Regions from separate parts of the Homo sapiens genome. Here region 2 is linked to region 1. Evidence: promoter capture Hi-C in 16 types of primary human blood cells and fetal thymus (Javierre and others, 2016). All regions are on one chromosome and are shown on one strand. The core of a region is centred on a gene start or on the middle of the fragment in contact, and the rest is flanking DNA. Distances in the headings are between cores, read along the strand shown. Region 1 holds the start of CELF6 (CUGBP Elav-like family member 6). Region 2 overlaps NEO1 (neogenin 1).

Region 1 (2,799 bases), core at 206-2,705:
TTCAGCCTGACTCACCCTGAGAATGGGCCTGGACTGGGACCAGCCTGTGAGGGGAGGGAAAGAAAGAGGCCATAAAGAGGACTGGGGAGGAGCAAAGAAGAGGCACAGGAGTGAGGGGATTAGAGAAGGAAAGAAGTGTGGATTTAGCTGAGAGAAATCCAAGAAGAAAGGGACACAGGGTGGCAGGAGTTCCCAGCTGAGGTCAGGGTTCTGAACTGAAATCAAAAGAGGTAGAGTGCATTGGGATTCTGGCGAAGGGCAGGAGAGATTGGGGCTGTTGTTGAACATGAGGGGGTGTCTGGAACTGAGAGCCTCCTGGGAATTGAATTGGATTTTGTGTTAGACAGGTCTGGGTTCTGAAGAAGGGGAGGGTTTGGGTCTGCGGTGTTTTAGGTTGGCAGTCTGAGAGTCAAAAGAAGGCTCTTGAGGGGGATGGCCGGACTAGGAGGCCAGAGGAGGGGTGCAAGTCCAAGATATGCATGTGGGTGGTTAGGCCTGAGTGAGGTGCCACCAGATGGAGGATTCAGGAGTGTTTGGGCTCAGGGTTTGGGAAATTGAGGGTATTCGAGATCTAGAAGGTGGAATAAGTTTTCAAATTCCAGAATTTTAGGTCTGATGGGAGAGGTGGTGGAAAGGTCCAATTGAAAGGCAGGGACTGCTGGGATGTGAGAGGTGGAGGCCAGGAATTTGGAGGTTAGAGTGGAGAACATGTTAGGGGACCACAGTGATAATCAGAGGGAGGATGTCAGAGAGAAAATTCTGTGATCTGGGAAGGGGGCTGGGCTGAGGTGGGGCTGATATTGGACTGGTGTTGGACTGGCTCTCGGCAGGGCTAGGGCTGGGGCTGGGCTGGGGTCGGGCCACACTCTAATCGGATTGGGGCTGGGCTGGGCTGGGCTGACCCCGCGCACCTTTGTGGAGGCCGGTGAGCCGGTCCTTCAGCACCGTCAGCTCGTAGATGCGGCCGAACTCCTCGAACAGCGGCTTGAGGTCCTGCTCGTCCAAGCCCCGCGGGATCTGCCCCACGAAGAGCTTGATGGCGTCGTGGTCCTTCATGGGTACGGCGGGACCGGGGTTTAGCCCGCTCATGCCGACGCCGCTGTCCGCGGTGCTGAAACCCAGGCGCGGGCCGGGGCCAGCGGGCTGCGCTGACCCTCCCGGCGCCGCGGCCATGTCCCCGCCCTGTCAGCCCTCCCGCCGGTCCCACTGGTCCCGCCTGTCCCGCCGTCCCCTCCCTGGACCGGTGGCGAGGGCCAGGGGGAGGGGGCGGAGCCCGGGCGGAGAGGGCGGGGGGCTGCCCAGGGGGCGGGGTCCGGGTGGAGGGGCGTAGAGGGGGTGGGGCGGGCAGGAAAGGGGCGGGGCCGGGGCGGGGCGGGCCCGGGCCGAGGTGGCGGCTGAACGCTGGGGTCTGGCTTGAGGTCCCCGTGCGGCTCTCTCTGGGCTCCCGCCCGAGCTCTCCCAGAGCCGAGCCCCGAGCCCCAGCCCCCGTGCTTGGTGACGTCAGGCAGCTGGCCGCCGAGTCTACGCAAATGATTTGCATAATGAGGAAGCAGCCGCCAATCAGAGTGGGAGTTGACTGGGCTCGCCGGGGGCGGGGGGGGCGGCTGGGCTCACGCGCTCCTGCTCGCCATGGCAACCGGACCCTCGAATGCCCTGTGTGTGTCGAGTGTGTGCGGGCGTGGCCGTGGATCGCGCGTGTGCGCCTTGGGCCGCGTGAGGGGAAGCAGCTTCGTCATGCGTGATGGTGTCTGCCGGAGTCGGGGCTAATCCCCACCGCACACACAGGCACACACAGGCAAACGCAGGCACACGCAGGCACACACACCTCCAAACGCTGGTGCGTTTCCTGCGGGGGTGGATGGGGATTCCTCTTCTCTATTCCCACTATCGAGCCAGTCCCTCGGAGCCAATCCCACCCCGCCCCATCACACATCTCTGTCTTCGGTGTCTTTAACCACTTTCTTACCCCTGAGCCTCAGACACATTCGTCTCCCTTGCAGCCTTAAAAAGAAAGGAAGAATAAAATAAAAACCCCTTAAACACTCCTTGAACACGGATTCCTCCTTAGGAGAGTGAGGGAACTTAGCCGTATTTACTCAGAACCCATTATGCACCAGGTGCCCAGTTCATCCCAGTTCTGTGAACTCAGGAGTGTTCTCTTTTTCCGGAAAAGGAAGCTGAGGTTCTGAGGGTCGAGGATGTTAGGGCCAGGCCCACCCCAACATTTGTTGGGCCCAGCGCAAAATAAGAAATGGAAATCGACATACTGTGCATCTAAACATTTAAAAGATACAAATCAAATTACAATTTGTTAAATATGTTCCCCTCTTATTTTCACAAATACAGGTTCAGAATTACGAAAATGAAAGACATATGTACAGCTACGCTTTCTATATGACTGAAAGTTGGCAAAATATCAGAGCTGATGGAATTTTATTACTCCTGCACATGTCTAGGTATTCTCTTGATGGATCAGTGATGTTTGCACAAAGTAGTAATACAATGTTTGGACAAAGACACATACTTCATAAATTATATATTTATTCCATAATATATTTTTCATGCCTCTTTCAGTAAAATTGCTAATTATTTTAATAGAGATTTCCTTTTTTTTTTTTTGATAGGTTATCATTCTGTCACCCAGGCTGTAGTGCAGTGGTGCGATCTAAGATCACTGCAGCCTCAACCTCCTGGGTTCAAGCGATCCTCCCACCTAAGCCTCCCAAGTAGCTGGGATGACAGGTGCACGCTACCATGCCTGGATAATTTTTTTTCTTTTTTTTTTTTTGTAGAGATGGT
Region 2 (2,799 bases), core at 153-2,652, 760 kb after region 1:
ATAATTGATGGCAATAAGCTTCAGGAGTATGAAAGAAGTGGATGAGTATGCCTTTCCCCCATTGATTCCACTCACATTTTTTCTTCTCTGTGCTTTGCTCTCTTGTTGCCATTAGACAGTTTCTATCTGTCCTTAATTTTAGCCAGTTTGTTCTAAAGTAACTGTGAACACTGTAACTCTCTAGCCAGTGCCTTTCTTTTATTGAATGGAATTGGTGTACTAGTTGTTTTATTTAACAAACAGAGTTTATAGGCTTGTTTTTTCCTCAACATGTCTTCATGGCAGAGACAATTTACCCTTAAGTTGGTGAGCCCTGGATCCCCTCACTTGCATAGACCTCTTCTAGGATCTGGGAGAGGCTCTAGCAGTGTAGTGTGTTTGTTAGTTACATATTTTTGTAACATTTGCAAAATTGAAAAATTTTTTTCCATTTTTTTTTTTCTTCAAAAAGGCCCTCAAATTATATATGCTTCAAATTTCACAAAACTCAGGTCAGCCTTGGTTCATGGTAGAGGTTGGGTGTTGATTTCTAATTGTGGCCGAGGTAGATTTGGTTAGTGGATTAAAGGACATGAGGAAGGAAGCATTAGTGAGGAAGTTGAACCATTGACTGGTGTGTATAGTGGCCAGGGATCTCTTTCTGAGTGTCAGGGGTCATCTCTTCTCCCTGCAAACATGGGCCAGAAAGAGGCGGGAGAAGTTGGGTAGGACTGGAAGAAGGACAGTGGAGGGAAAGGTGTGCTGCAGCCAAGGTGGTAAACAAATTAAGGTGTTCTCCTTAGATTTCAAGGATGCATTTGCAAATAGCGTTTTCAATAGCATTTTAAAATAACTGAAGAGTCATTTCAAGATAATATATTTCATCTTGATAATAATACATTTTAAGAATTTTAGAATTATTGAAAAATTTGAAAAGTCAATTTCATAATTAACTGATTGACTTGAGATTAAAGTCTTTATCTTATTAATTAGAATATATTGCTGAACACATAAAACACAGACATGTTCATTTTTGAAGGGCGTTGCTGTAACTTGGGTTTTGCTAGCTTCTTGGTTTGGTAGATGTTTCATCTCTCTCCCCTTTTTCTCATTGTCTCACCTGTATTTTTTTCTACCTTTTCATTTCATGTTCCCTTTACTTTGGGATTCAAACTCCTCTTAGACTTCTCAGGATTTTGAATGACTGGACTATAGATAATCACATTTTAAAACTGCATTTTAATATTCTGTTCTCTTTAAAGAAAATTAGGTACTCTGCATGGCCTGGGGACAAATTTACAGTTAAATAGAAGTATAATGTTCTGAGGGCCAATTGTAACTACCCTGTGGTTAACTGGCTCAGGTTCAAATACAGTTAAAATTATTTTACTTTTCCTAAAATTCCTTCTAATTGGACTAACTTATCAGGGTTGATAAAAACATTTCCAGAACGTAGTATGGATCTGCCACCTGGTGGTGAAATATTACAGCAAGTACTAAGTGTTTTGTTTTTTTTTTTCTGAGACAAGGACTCACTGTCACCCAGACTGGAGTGCAGTAGCACCATCACAGCTCACTGTAGCCTCGACCTCCTGGACTCAAGCAATCTTCCCACCTTAGCCCCCAGAGTAGCTGGGACCATAGGTGCATGCCACCACACCTGGCTAATTTTTAAAGTTTTTGTAGAGATAGGGTCTCACTATGTTGCCCAGGCTGGTCTTGAGCTCCTGTCTCAGCCTCCCAAAGTGCTGGCATTACAGGTATGAGCCACCACACCCAGCCAAATACTAGTATTTTTTTTTTTTTTTTTGAGATGGAGTCTTGCTCTGTCACCCAGGCTTGAGTGCAGTAGCCCAATTTTGGCTCACTGCAACCTCCGCACTCCCTGCTCCGGGCCCAAGTGATTCTCCTGCCTCAGCCTCCCGAGTAGCTGGGACTACAGGCATGCACCACTGCATCCAGCTAATTATTGTATTTTTAGTAGAGATGGGGTTTTGCCACATTGGCCGGACTGGTCTCGAGCTCCTGACCTCAGGTGATCTGCCCAACTCGGCCTCCCAGAGTGCTGGGATTACAGGCATGAGCCGCCACGCCCAGCCTAAATACTTGATAAGAATTTAATAATGGATTCTTGCCTTTGTGGCCATAATATTTAGAGTCGAGTCTACTTAAGCTCTTTAGATATGTAACATTTTCCTCCCCTAAGTTTTTTTCACTGAGAAAATGTTACTTAAATGCGATAGAGTAGGTAAATTTTGACTGATGTGTTTCTGTCTACCGCATCGTAATATAAGATGACATTTGTAGAATTACTGAGCTGAAATAAATTCTGCACACATTGAGAATGTACTCTCCTTAAATTTGAAGATGAGCTTTTGAGAAGAGAAGATTGCTGTTAATTTTTCTAAAATTTCAATGTGGATAGTCATTGATTCACAGAAAAAACAGTAATATGAAGTTCACAGAACAAAGAAAAAACAGTAAGATGAAGTTCACAGAACAAAGGATTTTTTTTTTTGGAAAGAAAGCATTTTGTTTATTCACTTAAAAATATTAGCAGGCATATTAAAACTACTTTTAGCAAATAGACTAACAGTTTTATCACCCTCAAATGAATTATTAATACATATCAGTATTTTATATATGGGCACTGTGTTAGGTATACATGATAAAATAGTGAAAATAAAAATGTCTCTTGTCCTCCTGGAGTTTATAATCTAGCTAGAATCTGTAATCTAACATAATGTTAAGGGCCATAAAGGAGAAGTGCATAATAGGGAGAGTTCACCCTGGCTAGTGTATCAGAGAAAGCTTCCCTAA

Evidence for each region. The method cuts DNA at HindIII sites, captures the fragments that hold promoters and counts their contacts. A CHiCAGO score of 5 or more calls a contact.
Region 2: a fragment that was not itself captured here is called in contact with the fragment with the promoter of CELF6 in region 1 in 1 of 17 cell types (endothelial precursors); the score reaches 5.9 in endothelial precursors.

The regions. Positions count from the first base shown.
Region 1 is chr15:72,318,702-72,321,500 of GRCh38, forward strand. It overlaps CELF6 (CUGBP Elav-like family member 6), which reads right to left and starts at 1,456. Exons shown (of 13, transcript NM_052840.5): 1 at 912-1,456. The coding sequence starts at 1,173. RefSeq lists silencers at 1,143-1,482, 1,543-1,592. The HindIII fragment of the contact is 9,541 bases long and covers 1-2,799 here.
Region 2 is chr15:73,080,096-73,082,894 of GRCh38, forward strand. The region is part of intron 1 of NEO1 (neogenin 1); the gene reads left to right. Among named protein-coding and RNA genes, the nearest start is that of NEO1, 29 kb to the left of the region's middle. The HindIII fragment of the contact is 2,772 bases long and covers 17-2,788 here.